3 separate regions of the Homo sapiens genome follow, and regions 1 and 2 are each linked to region 3. Evidence: promoter capture Hi-C in human tissues and cell types (Jung and others, 2019). All regions are on one chromosome and are shown on one strand. The core of a region is centred on a gene start or on the middle of the fragment in contact, and the rest is flanking DNA. Distances in the headings are between cores, read along the strand shown. Region 1 overlaps UBE4B (ubiquitination factor E4B). Region 2 overlaps UBE4B (ubiquitination factor E4B). Region 3 holds the start of RBP7 (retinol binding protein 7).

Evidence for each region. The method cuts DNA at HindIII sites, captures the fragments that hold promoters and counts their contacts. A contact is called where the count stands out against the background at its distance.
Region 1: a fragment that was not itself captured here is called in contact with the fragment with the promoter of RBP7 in region 3 in 2 of the 25 tissues and cell types used here (IMR-90 fibroblasts and pancreas).
Region 2: a fragment that was not itself captured here is called in contact with the fragment with the promoter of RBP7 in region 3 in 2 of the 25 tissues and cell types used here (H1 embryonic stem cells and aorta).

What each region holds. Positions count from the first base shown.
Region 1 is chr1:10,104,424-10,109,257 of GRCh38, reverse strand. UBE4B (ubiquitination factor E4B) reads right to left here. Exons shown (of 28, transcript NM_001105562.3): 6 at 3,514-3,742; 7 at 2,675-3,061. Among named protein-coding and RNA genes, the nearest start is that of UBE4B, 74 kb to the right of the region's middle. RefSeq lists an enhancer at 34-534. The HindIII fragment of the contact is 4,865 bases long and covers 1-4,070 here.
Region 2 is chr1:10,070,177-10,074,832 of GRCh38, reverse strand. It overlaps UBE4B (ubiquitination factor E4B), which reads right to left. Exons shown (of 28, transcript NM_001105562.3): 2 at 2,619-2,805. Among named protein-coding and RNA genes, the nearest start is that of UBE4B, 40 kb to the right of the region's middle. The HindIII fragment of the contact is 3,592 bases long and covers 271-3,862 here.
Region 3 is chr1:9,994,666-9,998,984 of GRCh38, reverse strand. It overlaps RBP7 (retinol binding protein 7), which reads right to left and starts at 1,757. Exons shown (of 4, transcript NM_052960.3): 1 at 1,654-1,757. The coding sequence starts at 1,726. LOC124903840 (basic salivary proline-rich protein 2-like) reads left to right here and starts at 896. Exons shown (of 2, transcript XM_047436754.1): 1 at 896-1,303; 2 at 2,133-2,266. The coding sequence starts at 955. The coding sequence ends at 2,266. It also overlaps a transcript of NMNAT1 not described here. RefSeq lists a silencer at 1-8. The HindIII fragment of the contact is 9,171 bases long and covers 1-4,319 here.

The DNA of each region.
Region 1 (4,834 bases), core at 389-2,888, 110 kb before region 3:
CTGAATGCATTTCTATGATTTTGACCCTCTTGTCTGTCCCCCCGGCCCCCCCGTTCCCCCTGCCACTTCCTCACAGCAGGCTACAGCGAGGAGTAAAGGGGCTGATACATGGACAGAGCTGACACCACATCTGGCGCACAATGCTCCATGAGTATTTGCAGCTATTTTTATACACTTGGTACATTTTATTCCTCCTAGTAGGGAGAGAATTTAGATCTGAGGCAAGGCTGGGGTGTTAGAAGTCCAGAAAGAGAGGTATTAGTAAAAGCAGCACACAATCTGATACGGTTGTTAGAGAAAGTCACAACTAAATAGGCCAGGGAGAGAGAATTTCTCCCACAGAAAATTTACAGTAAAACAGGTAACACAGCACTTTTACCATGTGGAAACTGGTTCCTAGGAAGGATGCCTGCTTTATTACTATAATCATGCAATAGGATTTTATCTACGTGAAAAAGACACTTTCACCTTTGGGAAATTTACTTGAGAAATGGTGATAAAATGTTCAGCGTAATACAAATATCAACCTTCCTGAATCAATATTCAACCTTGCATCAACATTCCTCTGTCTCTTTACGTATTCTCTAATGATTCTTCTGAACACCATCGAATTGAATGAAGTGTACCTAACTCCTACTGCAGTCTCTATTTATAGCCTGGAGTTATTTTTGAACAGTGCTGGGCACAAACACCAACTCAGTCCACAGGAAACTTCAATTTAAGAGCAAAATTGTAAGACAATGAGTCAGAGGATTAGAAAGAAGGTGCTATTATATTCTCTTGCTCAAAGTCACCTACACAACCCAAGTAGTGCTTTTCACTCGGTTTCCAGGGGTAAACATTCAGCAACATCCGGAACTATGTTTCAGCCTCTGCGGTCATTTCAAAGGCTCTTTAAACAAATGGGGTCTGGCTTCACTGAGGTCCAGGAGGTGCTAAGAGAAATTTAAGGCTAGACATGAAAGCAAAGTCACAGTTATGCAGATGGTATGACCTCATATGTTCTTCGATGGATTGCCCAGACTGAGCTCAATGGGGGTGAACAGGGGGGCGGTGGAGGCTGGGAGGGGGTGGGAAGGGAGCACGCACGCACACACACACACACACACACCTCCCCCAAATCCCAGCCCCTCTCCCGTTACTAAATAGCAGCAATTCATGCAACTGTACTTAAGAAAACATGCCTCAGAGAGTACAAGTTGTCACATCTGGTAGTTCACAATAACATTCTCGCAATAGATAAATGAAGGGTCCCTCATTTTAGATCTAAAGGTGGATAAACTTGATGACTGATCTTTAATCTGTTTTCATGCTTTTGAAAAATGATTATACATAAAGTTTTCCTCCAAACTTGCCAGGCGACAACTCTGAAAATTCTGGGGCCAGACACAGTGACTCACTCCTGTAATCCCAACATTTTGGGAGGCCAAGACGGGCAGATCACTTGAGGTCAGGAGTTCGAGACCAGCCTGGCCAACCTGGCAAAACCCTGTCTCTACTAAAAATACAAAAATTAGCCGGGCATGGTGGCGGGTGCCTGTAATCCCAGCTACTTGGGAGTCTGAGGCAGGAGAATCACTTGAACCCAGGAGGAGGAAGTTGCCGTGAGCCGAGATTGCGCCATTGCACTCCGGCCTGGGCAACAAGAGCAGAACTCTGCCTCAAAAAAAAAAAAAAAAAAGAAAGAAAGAAAGAAAAAAAGAAAATTCTCCTATGTGCTACTTTATCCCATGAGAAGGTCTGAACACATCAATATACTCTGGAGCCCACCTCATTTGACCCTATCCTGCCTGGATTCAAAGCACGCCCCTTGTTAGAGCTTATAGAAGTTAGTTCCTAAGCATCTACGCACATGCAGGGGTAAGACTCCATTCCTCTGATACCTGGACCCAAACTGGACACAAGAAAAATCATCACCACCACCACCACCTTCATCATCACCATCACCATCATCATCATCTTCTTCTTCATCTTCTTCATCACTACTGTCCCCAGAAAGTGCGAGGAAGAGGAAGGAGAAAGGATTGTCGTACATACTACCACAACAAAAGCAAAAAAGGCCATCAGAGAACAAAGAAAAAACAAGACGGGGAGAAGCTTTTGCAACTGCTGTCCTTTTAAATAAACCATACACTAAAACTTTTGGCCACTGACATGCAGAAACATAATTCACCTAAATTATAGAAACACATACAGGTACATTTGAGAGAAGGGGCCACTGGATTAGTGGAATTCTGATACTGCTTCCTTCTAAGAGACTGAACTTACATATAACTAAAACTCAACACGTCAGGACATGAACCGACCCACCCCACTCACCAGAAGTAAAAAACACCAGGCCCAGATTTGCTCCCACACCTGCTTGGTCTGATAGCATTTCAACTACCACTGGCAACAGGACAAAAGGCCAAAAAGGGTTCCTGTGTGCCCCAACTCTCAAAGGGAAGAAAGGGATTCACAATAGAATAGAGCAACCCAAACTTTCCAGCATGATTAGAGCCTGGCAGAAGCATGGACTCAGAGTACGTGCCTACCAAACTAGTTAGCCACACAGGTTAATAACCCAAAACAACAATTTAACAGAGTCAGTGTCACACAGCACTTCTTCCAAACCGTGTTAATCTCCTTTCCCTGCACCGCAAACACACATGCAACTCTCCTGTGGGATAAATACCTAGGAGAGATCCTCAGGGAGGAGGGGCGTCTGCTCGTGGCACTGGGTGAGGCGGGTGGTAGGGGTGGACCCGTGCTGCTGGGCCTCTGTCTGGAACTGCTGGCGGGCACTGCTTGGGGGCTACTGGCGAGGGCAGGGGGACTTGGGGAGCTCGACAGAATGGAGACGCCTGAGGACGCCCATGGGTGAGTGACAGTGTAGGGGCGATACCGCGGGGATGAAGGCTGGCTTCCCGCAGCAGTTCCAGAGGCTGCACTGTGAGGACTGAGGGGAGTGGAAGGCACAGCCAACTGGCTGGCTGCACGGGAAGGTGAGGCAAGAGACGGGCCCATCACGGGAACAGAGCTCCAGAAACTGGGAGTGGGAGCCGGACTACTTTCATAGAGGCTAAATTAGTTGAGAAAGGGAGGAAAGAAGAGAAAAATCAAAGAAAAACTTGAGATAACTAACTAAAACAGAAAATATCAAGCTTTTAAAGGAGAATCATTTCAGTTCAAGTATATCTAGCAGATAAACATCTAAATAATTATAATCTAATTGCCCTATTGATCTAGAGGCTATACTTACAAGACGATAAAGTCCCCATTCGAAGAATGATGTAGTATACACAGCCAACTGCTTCTAAAATTTCATCTAGCAATATCTTAACCATAGAGAGCCAAAAAATAATAATCTAGAAAAGAGAATTCCACTTCCAATGACTAAATCCACCTCCCCAAATATGATATATGCCATACCCTGTATGACACTGATTAACACTGTCAACAAACATTCCCTTCTCCTACGTAGTTCACAGTTATTTTACTACCAGTAAGATGTGCAAAGAGAACCACACTGACCTAGACAAAGAGCTGGCACCAAAGGAAGCCACGCTGCAGAACATGGGGCTTGTTCCTGGATTGGAGCCAGTGTTTAGCAAGAGATTTCTGTCTGGTGACCGTGCTGCTGCAGCAATTGGCTGTGATGTGGCTGTCAGACTGGCAAATGGGTTTTCATCTCTGGTCTGAGTGGACATCATTAGCACTTCCATTAAAATCTGGCCAATCAAGTCCTTAAAATCGGAGAATACTGTTGGAAAGGCAGAACAAAGAACAGGTTACACACAGTTCGAACACAGGTTACACAGCCCTTGAATAAGCCAGCTGACCCCAAATGGTTCGATGCAGTATCCTGGATTAGATTCTGGAATGGTAAAAGGATATTAGTGGAAAACCTAAATAAAGCCTTGTGTTTAGTTAGTAGTAATTTCTTAGTTTTGACAAATGTACCATGGTTATATAAGATATTAACGTCAGGGGAAACTGGGTAAAGTATATATAGGAACTCCCTGCACTAACTGAAACTATTCCAAAATTAAAAGTTTATTAAAAAGAAAGTTGGGGTACAGTCATTGAGAGTTACCGCTGATGTATATTAATTGTAAAAAGAAGCTACTCCCAACTATAGAGGTTACTTTATTATACTACAAATGCAACTGGGTTAATATTTCTTAGTCTAGATATGTTTTATAGATAGTAATAAAACTATTAAGTCCAAGGTTCAAAAGATTTTATGAAGGGTCCAACATCTAGTCACCATGTGGCTTTCAGGAGCAAATGCTACATTCTAGCTTCCTTCTTATTCTTTGCAGCTCCCAGTTGATTTACTGTTGGTCTTTAGATACATTTTAAATACCACTAAACAAAAGTTTTAACTCATGGAAATTTTATCTGATTTGGTTATTTAAAATTGCCACTTACATGTGTAAGACAGAGTTGCCACTTAACATGTGTAAGACACTTGTTTTAACAAAAGTTTTAACTCATGGAAATTTTATCTGATTTGGTTATTTAAAATTGCCACTTACATGTGTAAGACAGATTTGCCACTTACATGTGTAAGACAGAGAATCTTAAGATTTATAATAAGAATAACAAGTAGCAGAGTTTCAAATACATGGTCTGCTCCATTAGCAGAGTTAATAAGTAAAATCAGAAATAGTCTTATCTATCCTCCAGAAATACAAAGGACTTTTTTTTTCCCTCCTCAGAAGATAGGCAGCATAGAAAAGAGAAAGGTGATCTCCTTGATATTCACGCATCCATTTAAAATCTATCTATTGAGGGACTATTTTGTGCAAGATATCCTTCTAGGGATACATCAATGAGTAAAACAGACAAA
Region 2 (4,656 bases), core at 817-3,316, 76 kb before region 3:
ACAACAGTAAGAGAATAAAGCTGGATGGAAAGGACAAGAGGTTAAATATTGAGCCCTTGAATCCTAACATTTAGAAGTCAGGGAAATGAAAAGGAACCAGGCAAAGAGTGAAGAAGGAACAGATACAGAGAATGCATGAAAACCAGGAGAATGTGCTGTTCTGGAAGCCAAAAGAAAAACGTGTTTCCAGGAGAAGTGGGTGAAAGCCATGTCTAATGAGGCTGATGGGTCAGACCAGACAGTGACTCAGAGCAACCACAGAGCAACCACGGGAACCCTCGCCTGACTGCAGTTGATTCAGCAAAGAGTGCAAGGGCAGAAGGGGATGGAGAGGACAGGCAACTCATTCCGGAAGTTCTGCTGCAAAGGTTTTGGTGCAGAGATGTGGGGGAGAAGCTGGCAGGGGGAATTAGATCAAGAGAGTTCCTTTTGTTCATTCCCATGATGGGAAAAGTAATGGCATTATATAGGCTGTTAAAAAAAAAAAGGCCATATGAGATGGAAAATCTGATGAAGCAAGAGAGAGAAAGGAACTGCTGGAGTGAAGGCTGAGTAACTGAAGGGAGATGGGATCTAGGGTCCAAGCTTCAACAGCAGCAGGGACAATTTGTGCATAACAAGAACCAGGCGCACATACAGGTAGGCAGATGGATGTGATGACTGAGGCTGATGGAGGTTCCCTGCCTAGGTTCTGCCTGCATCTGTTTTCTCAATGAAATATGAGGCCAGAGTTAGGTGTGGTGGCACATGCCTATAGTCCCAGCTACATGAGAGACTGAAGCAGACGGATCATCTGAGCCTGGGAGTTTTAAGCTGTAGTGCACTAGGATCACGCCTATGAACAGCCACCATGCTCCAGCCTGGGCAACCCAGTGAGACCTCATCTCCAAAAAAAAAAAAAAAAAAAAAAAATAGAAAGAAAGAAATGGGAAGCCAGGCCACTAGCTGAGAGAGTGAGCATGGAGAATGAGGTACTGCACACTCGAGAAGGTATGAAACAGATCAGCAGAGTGAGTGAACTGGGAAGCATGGTGCAACAGCCTGCCAGTATCAAGGGTCTACCCGAGTTTGTGATCATGAATTTGATGTTGTTGTTGTTGTTGTTGTTGTTTTTGAGACAGAATCTCACGCCATCACCAGGTTGGAGTGCAGTAGCGCAATCTTGGCTCATTGCAACCTCCACCTCCCGGGTTTAAGCAATTCTCATGCCTCAGCCTCTCTTGTAGTTGGAATTACAGGCAGGTAGCACCACACCCGGCTTTTTGTATTTTTTTTGTGAGACGGGCTTTCACCATGTTGGCTAGGCTGATCTCAAACTCCTGACCTCAACTGATCCACCCACCTTGGCTTCCCAAAGTGCTGGGATTACAGGCATGAGCAACCACACCCAGCCATGTAATCATGAATTCGAAATGAGACAGACATTTCAAAAGTTTTCAATTAGTTCAAATGGTTCTGAGTTTTTCTATAGCCTTATTCCAGTGTAGGTGGGGAATGGGATTTAACCAAGATCCTGGTTTAAATAAGCAAGTAAGACAAAGTGAGAGAGGTTCTCTCCAGGACAGATTCCAGCATTCCAGGTATGGCCTGACCAGGGTGAGGCAAAGAGCACTGTTGTCAGTACTGTGTCCAAGGAAAATCACATTTGGAATCCTGAACCCATCAATCCTACCAGAAGACCATCAGAGCTTCTCAGAGACATACAGAGGAAACATTATAGGCAAGGATCTTCTTTATTACTAACAGATGTTTTGGTTGAACCACATTAGGTATAAACATTTATATATATCTATAGTCTACACTGATACCTAACGAGAAGTACAGCAACAAAAACTCTGCAAATACTTTTAATTGACACGATTCTAGATCAAGAAGACAGATGATTCAGAAGGCTATCAAATTATTAGATGATATTATGATCAATGCAGTTCTCTTAGCACCCCCTTTACGCAACTAGAATCCTAATTATAAAATAGTAATTATTATTATATGACAATAATACTATATTTGATAGAAAAGTTCACAGACAAAAGAGAGATATTTTCAAATACACAGTATGAGAAATATCATTTCCCAACAAAGACAGTCCTGGATATCAAGCATCAGCTCATTTATTATAAAGAAATAAACTTTTACTTTTTAATGAGATAGTTCTAAACATCCTATCAGGTAGTTTTATCCTCTGAAAAGTTAAAGAAAAAGTTCTGTGCCAATGCAGAATGAAGACGAGGAAATCTGCAATTAGAGGTGTTCATTTTGACCATTATTTTAATCTTGCATTTTCAGATTATTTTATCTTAAAACCATCAACCAAATTCATAAAATCAGCAGAACCAAATTCAGTCTTAATCATCTTGTCATCAGAGATAATACCTAAACCTGTTTGAAAAAAAAAAAGATGGAAGTTATGGAAAGAAAAGCAATTGGTTTAACAGATTGCAATAAAAAAAAAAGCGATAACACAACACATTGCAATGATATTTAAACTACTGCTTGGAGGATTTTAAAGAGCTGATGTCTGCTTCATTTTAATCTGTTCTGGAAACATCACAACCATCAGCTTAACAAAAAGCTAAGAAGAATTACAAAAGAGTCCCAGGTATGAAGCTTGGGCTTACCTGATGCACCTATTGGGGAGGTAGCTGGGGTCATGTTGTGGACATTGAGACCAAGACTCTGAGAGGGTCCTGGGGCTGATGCCGCTATGGGAGGCCCCGGAGGGTTCTCCCTCTGGGGAGAGGTGAGTGGGGTGGTTGGCTGAGAGGTCTGTCCACCAGCAAGTCGTGCAAGGCGCCTCCGTCGAATCTACAACATGAGGGGAAAAGGGCATTCTATAACTAATCAGCAGAAACACAATTCTGCCAGAGAATGACATTATTCATAACCAAACCAGAGTTTAACAACTCAATATGCCTTCAGCAAAAGTACTCTTCTGAGAGAATAACTCGCTCTACCAGTATTCCTACAAGCTCTATCACTTGAGTTTTTAACAACTGTATTTTGGCCAGGTTCAGCGGTGCCTGCCTATAGTCTCAGCTACTTGGGAGGGTGAGGTGGGGGTAATCGCTTGAGCCTAGGAGTTCAAGACCAGCCTGAGCAAAGCAGTGACAACCCACCTCTAATTCATACATACATAAATACATACATAAATACGTATATACTGTATGTTAGTTCCCTTACCATCTCTGTTTATCACACCTCCTTGGCTGACATGGCGAATTTACGGTAAGCATATTACACTTCATTTTAGAGAGAGTCTCTCTGTCACCCAAGCTGGAGTGCAGTATTTCAATCATAGCTCACTGCAGCCTTGAACTCCTGGGCTCAAGTAATCTTCCCACCTCGGCCTCCTAAGTATCTAACACTACAGGTGCAAACCACCATGTCCAGCTAATTAATTTTTTTTAATTTTTGACAGAGACGAGGTCTCACTATGTTGCCCAGGCTGGTCTCAACCTCCTGGCCCCAAGTGATCCTCCCACCTTGGCCTCCCAGAGTACTAGGATTATGGGCATGAAGCACCATGCCCAGCCTATGCTTGTAACACACTAAAGCTTGTTGTTATTTTAATAAAATGACCTAACTTGGTCATTTCAAATAGGTAAGATTTAAAAATAAATAGCCAATTGGCCAGGTGTGGTGGCTCACGCCTGTAATCCCAGCACTCTGGGAGGCTGAGGCAGGAGGATCACGAGGTCAGGAGTTCGAGAACAGCCTGACCAACATGGTGAAATCCTGTCTCTACTAAAAATACAAAAATTAGCCAGGTGTGGTGATGCGTGCCTGTAATCCCAGCTACTGAGGCAGGAGAATCACTTGAACTCGGGAGGTGGAGGGCAATTGCAGTGAGCTGAGATGGCACCACTGCACTCTAGCCTGGGCAACAGAGGGAGACTCCACCTCCAAAATAAATTAATGAATAAATAGCCAATTTAATTCACTAAAACAATGAGAAACAAAAGTTACACTAAGACACAAATTTAACCATCACTTGTAGGAGCAAAATGATCAGATTTTCTTTTTTTACTTGATTCAATAAAAATACAATCTGCCACTTCTTCCTTTTAACATATAATTAAAGAGCAACATCTTATTGAAAGAGAAAAATTAATCCATTCATTCAAAATGTGTTTGTTGAACTCCTACTAACAGCAGGGCATCTCCAAAAGCTTCCTAACAGATTTACCCATGTCCCCTGAGCAAAAGAAGCCAGATGTAAAAAAAACAGAGTGGATGATTCCATTTCTATAAAATTTGAAAATAAGAAAAACTAAACTATACCATTAGTTTGGATAATGGTTATCCTTGGTGGGAAAGGGGCAGGAAGCAGCTCGGGAGAGGCAGGAGTGAGATTCTAGGGATCTGGTAATGGTTTTTTTTTTTTTTTTTTAATTTTAACTGGATACTAATGTCACAGCTATGTCCACTTTATGAAAACTCACTGGGTTGTATACTTACAACTATGAGTAATCAGTTCATGGGTATTCATCTTATTCTTCTTCATAGTTTATATGTTAAATATAGTCTTCTGTGTAGCATGTAATTTTTTTTTTTTTCTGAGACGGAGTTTCGCTCTTGTCACCCAGGCTGGAGTACAATGGCACCATCTCGGCTCACTGCAACCTCCCCCTCCCAGGTTCATGCGATTCTCCTGTC
Region 3 (4,319 bases), core at 508-3,007:
TGAGATTTGGGTGGGGACACAGCCAAACCATATCACTTGGCATTTGAGGAAATAACAGTAGCAGGAAGGTCCCCCTCAGACCTTCTTTTGCCCCTCTTCCCTGAAGCAGGCCATAAAAGAATTCTCTGCTCTTCCTCTGAAGAAGATCATAAGACTCTCAAGTGAGAGGTGCTTTTCCCATACCCAGAGGAACACTCTTATCTCTTGGGATATGAAAGAGCAAAATAAATGCCCCTTTATCAACTAAGATGGGCCCTAAGGTTAAGAAAACAAAAATTGGCCGGTGCGGTGCCTCACGCCTGTAATCCCAGCACTTTGGGAGGCCAAGGTGGGCAGATCACGAGGGCAGATGTTCGAGACCAGCCTGGCCAACATGGTGAAACCCCGTTTCTACTAAAAAATACAAAAATTAGCTGGGCGTGGTGGCGGGCGCCTATAGTCCCAGCTACTCGGAGAGGCTGAGGCAGGAAAATGGCGTGAACCCGGTAGGCGGAGCTTGCAGTGAGCCGAGATCGTACTACTGCACTCCAGCCTGGGCAACAGAGCGAGACTCCGTCTCAAAAAAAAAAAAAAAAAAGAAAGAAAGAAAGAAAGAAAAAAAGAAAACAAAAATTGCCCACGGGTCAAGGGTTCAGGGATTGGCCGGCACGGCAACTTCCCAGATTCCTAAAGCTACAAGAAAAACTACACTCGTGGCAGGGCGCGTGGCTCACACCTGTAATCCCAGCACTTTGGGAGGCCAAGGCGGGTGGATCACCTGAGGTCAGGAGTTGGACACCAGCCTGACCAATATAGTGAAACCCCTTCTCTACTAAAAGTACAAAATTAGCCGGACGTGGTGGCTGGCGCACGCGTGTAATCCCAGCTACTTGGAAGGCTGTGGCAGGAGAATCGCTTGAACCGAGGAGGCGGAGGTTGCAGTGAGTTGAGAGTCCGCGCACCGTTGGCACCGCGATGAGGGCGGGAAGCACAGCGCGGGGCCCCCGGGAGCAAGAACGCCGCGGGCACCCAGCCCTCGTGGGAGGCGGCGGTCGGGGCACGCCCCGGGCCGAACCAGGCTCTGCACTCCCGCGGGTGCCCGGACCTGAAGGGTCGTCCGCTGGCTCCAGGATTCTGCATCCCCGACCCGCTCCGGGTGCGCCGAGGCTGCTGGGACTTCGCTGCGGGAGCGCGCCCGGGGCCCCGGGGCCTGCACGGAAGGCGGCTGCGGGGAGGGTGGCCGGGCAGAGGCTTCGGTCCCGGGCGCCCCCTCCCCGGCCGGACCCCCCTCCCCGGCCGGACCCCGAGTCTGCAGTCTCCGCAGGTGTGCCGCGTGCGGGTAGAGACGGACGTGGGGCTGGACGCGGGCACTCAGGGACGGACGGGTGGGGGACCGACGGCCGGGGGAACAGAGGGCGTGGAGAGACGGCCGTGGGGACAGGGGGGCGGGTGGGCGCGGGAAAGGACGGACTGGGGGACTGAAGGACTGGGGTCCCGCGCCCGATGGACGGAGGCGCCAAGGACCAGCGGACTCGGGGGCGACTGGGCGACGGTGGGCGCAGCAGGGCGGAGGCACGGACAGAGGACGTACCTACAGGCCCGGCCCGGCCGCCTTCGCCTGATCCCGAGACCCACGGCGAGCCTCGCGCCGCCGCCGCCTCCCCTCCGCCTTACCTAGGGCCAGCATGTAGCCCTCGAAGTTGTCGCTGCTGAGCAGGGTCCAAGTACCGCTGAGGTCGGCGGGCATGGTCGGGGATCGCGGGACAAACCCGGCGGGCGGCCGGAGGCTCGGGCCGGGACCTATAAACCAGGCGGGGCGGGGCAGGGGGGTGGGGCCGCGCGCGGGAGGAGCAGGTGGGGCCGCGTGGGTCCCACTCACCCCTAGAAGCCGCTGCGCTCCCGGCCGCCTCAGCCCGGTGCTCCTGGCTCTGCCCACCGCGCGGCAGCTTCCCCCTTTCCTTGGGGCTTCCTCTCCTACTGCTTTCTCATGTCCCAGACTGTTTCGGGCCACATTTTCTTCCCTGCTTATATGTTAATGACCCAGGGATGATCTTCAAACTCATGGCATTGAATATTGTCAGCTTCAATAACAATATACCTCTCAACGTAACTCTCATGGTCTCAATAAATAGGAGTTTATTTTTCTTAACAAGGAGTCCTGAGAGAAGTGATTGCTGGTGATGATTCGCACCTAGGAATCACAGTGATTCGCACCTCGGTAACGCCGCAGCTTCGTCTCTGTGACTCTGGTGGCCTTTTATTCCTGCTTGTTACCTCCTGGTCATGAGCTGGCAGCTGGGTTCCCAGCCAGGACATCCACATTCAAGGTAGGGAAGAGGGAAAGCACCAAAGGTCAGTATCCCTGCAGCACAAACCTCCCCATCTCCTATAAGTCTGGATAGTTGGAAAAAAGAAAAGAAATTACCCAGCAGGTTTCTGTGTACATTTCATTAGCCAAAACTGTATCAATGCCACTTCTAACTGCAAGGGGGCCTGGGGATTCTAGTCTGCAGCATTTAGCCTCAGAGCAGAGAAAAGCAAAGGAGAAGGGGTGGGAATATGGGCTAACCTACAACATTAGCCACAAACACCGCCTAGATATGCTGGCTCCAAGACTGACTTATTGATTTTATTTTTATTTTTTTTCTTTTGAGACAGAGTCTCACTCTTTCTTTTTTCTTTTTTTTTTTTTTTTTGAGACGGAGTCTCGCTCTGTGCCCAGGCTGGAGTGCAGTGGAGAGATCTCGGCTCACTGCAAGCTCCGCCTCCGGGGTTCACGCCATTCTCCTGCCTCAGCCTCCCGAGTAGCTGGGACTACAGGCGCCCGCCAACACGCCCGGCTAACTTTTTATATTTTTATTAGAGACGGGGTTTCACCGTGTTAGCCAGGATGGTCTCGATCTCATGACCTTGTGATCCGCCCGCCTTGGCCTCCCAAAGTGCTGGGATTACAGGCCTGAGCCACTGCGCCCGGCAGAGAGGGAGTCTCACTCTATCGCCCCGGGCTGGAGGGCAGTGGTTCCATCTCGGCTCACTGCAACCTCCGCCTCCCAGGTTCAAGTGATTCTCCTGCCTCAGCCTCCCGAGTAGCTGGGATCACAGGTGCCCATCACCATGCCCAACTAATTTTTTGTATTTTTAGTGGAGATGGGGGTTTCATCATGTTGGCTAGGCTGGTCTTGAGCTCCTGACCTCGTGATTCGCCTGCCTCAGCCTCCCAAAGTGCTGGGATTATAGGTGTGAGCCACCGCACCCGCGGTATTTATTTTTTCATTTATTCTTTTTATTTTATTTTATTCTATTTTATTTTTTGAGACAGACTCTCACTCTGTCGCCTAGGCTGGAGTGCAATGGTGCAATCTTGGCTCACTGCAACCTCCGCCTCTTGGGTTCAAGCAACTCTCCTGCCTCAGCCTCCTGAGTAGCTGGGATTACAGGTACCTGCCACCATGCCTGGCTAATTTTTATATATTTTAGAAGAGGTGGAGTTTCACCATGTTGGCCAGGTAGGTCTCGAACTCCCAACCTTAAAAGATCCACCCACCTAAGCTTCCCAAAGTGCTGGAATTACAGGCATGAGCCACCACACCCAGACTGACTATTTTTTGAGATAGAGTCTTGCTCTGTTGCCTAGGCTGGAGTGCAGTGGTATGATCATGGTTCACTGTAGCCTCAACCTCCTGAGTTCAAGTGATCTTCCTGCCTCAGCCTTCTAAGTAGCTACAACTACAGGCATGTGCCACCATGCCTGACTAATTTTTTTAATTTTTTATAGAGATGGAGTATCCCTGTGTTGCCGGCGGTTGGTCTCAAACTCCTAGGCTCAAGCAACCCTCCAACCTTGGCCTCCCAAAGTGCTGGGATTACAGGTGTAAGCCACTGTGTCCAGCTCAAGATTTATATGTCAATTTATGACCTCTCCCATGAGTTCCAGACTCAAATATAATAAAAGCTAGCAGTCCGTGCATGGTAGCTCACACCTGTAATCCCAGCACTTTGGGAGACCGAGGTGGGTGGATCACCTGAGGTCAGGAGTTTGAGACCAGCCTGGTCAACATGGTGAAACCCCATCTCTACTAAAAATACAAAAAATTGGACAGGCGCAGTGGCTCAAGCCTGTAATCCCAGCACTTTGGGAGGCTGAGGCGGGCAGATCACGAGGTCAGGAGATCAAGACCTTCCTGGCTAACATGGTGAAACCCTGTCTCTACTAAAAATACAAAAAAATTAGCCGGGCGTGGTGGCGGGCACCTGTAGTCCCAGCTACTCGGGAGGCTGAGGCAGGAGAATGCGTGAACCCAGGAGGCGGAGCTTGCAGTGAGCCGAGATCGCGCCATTGC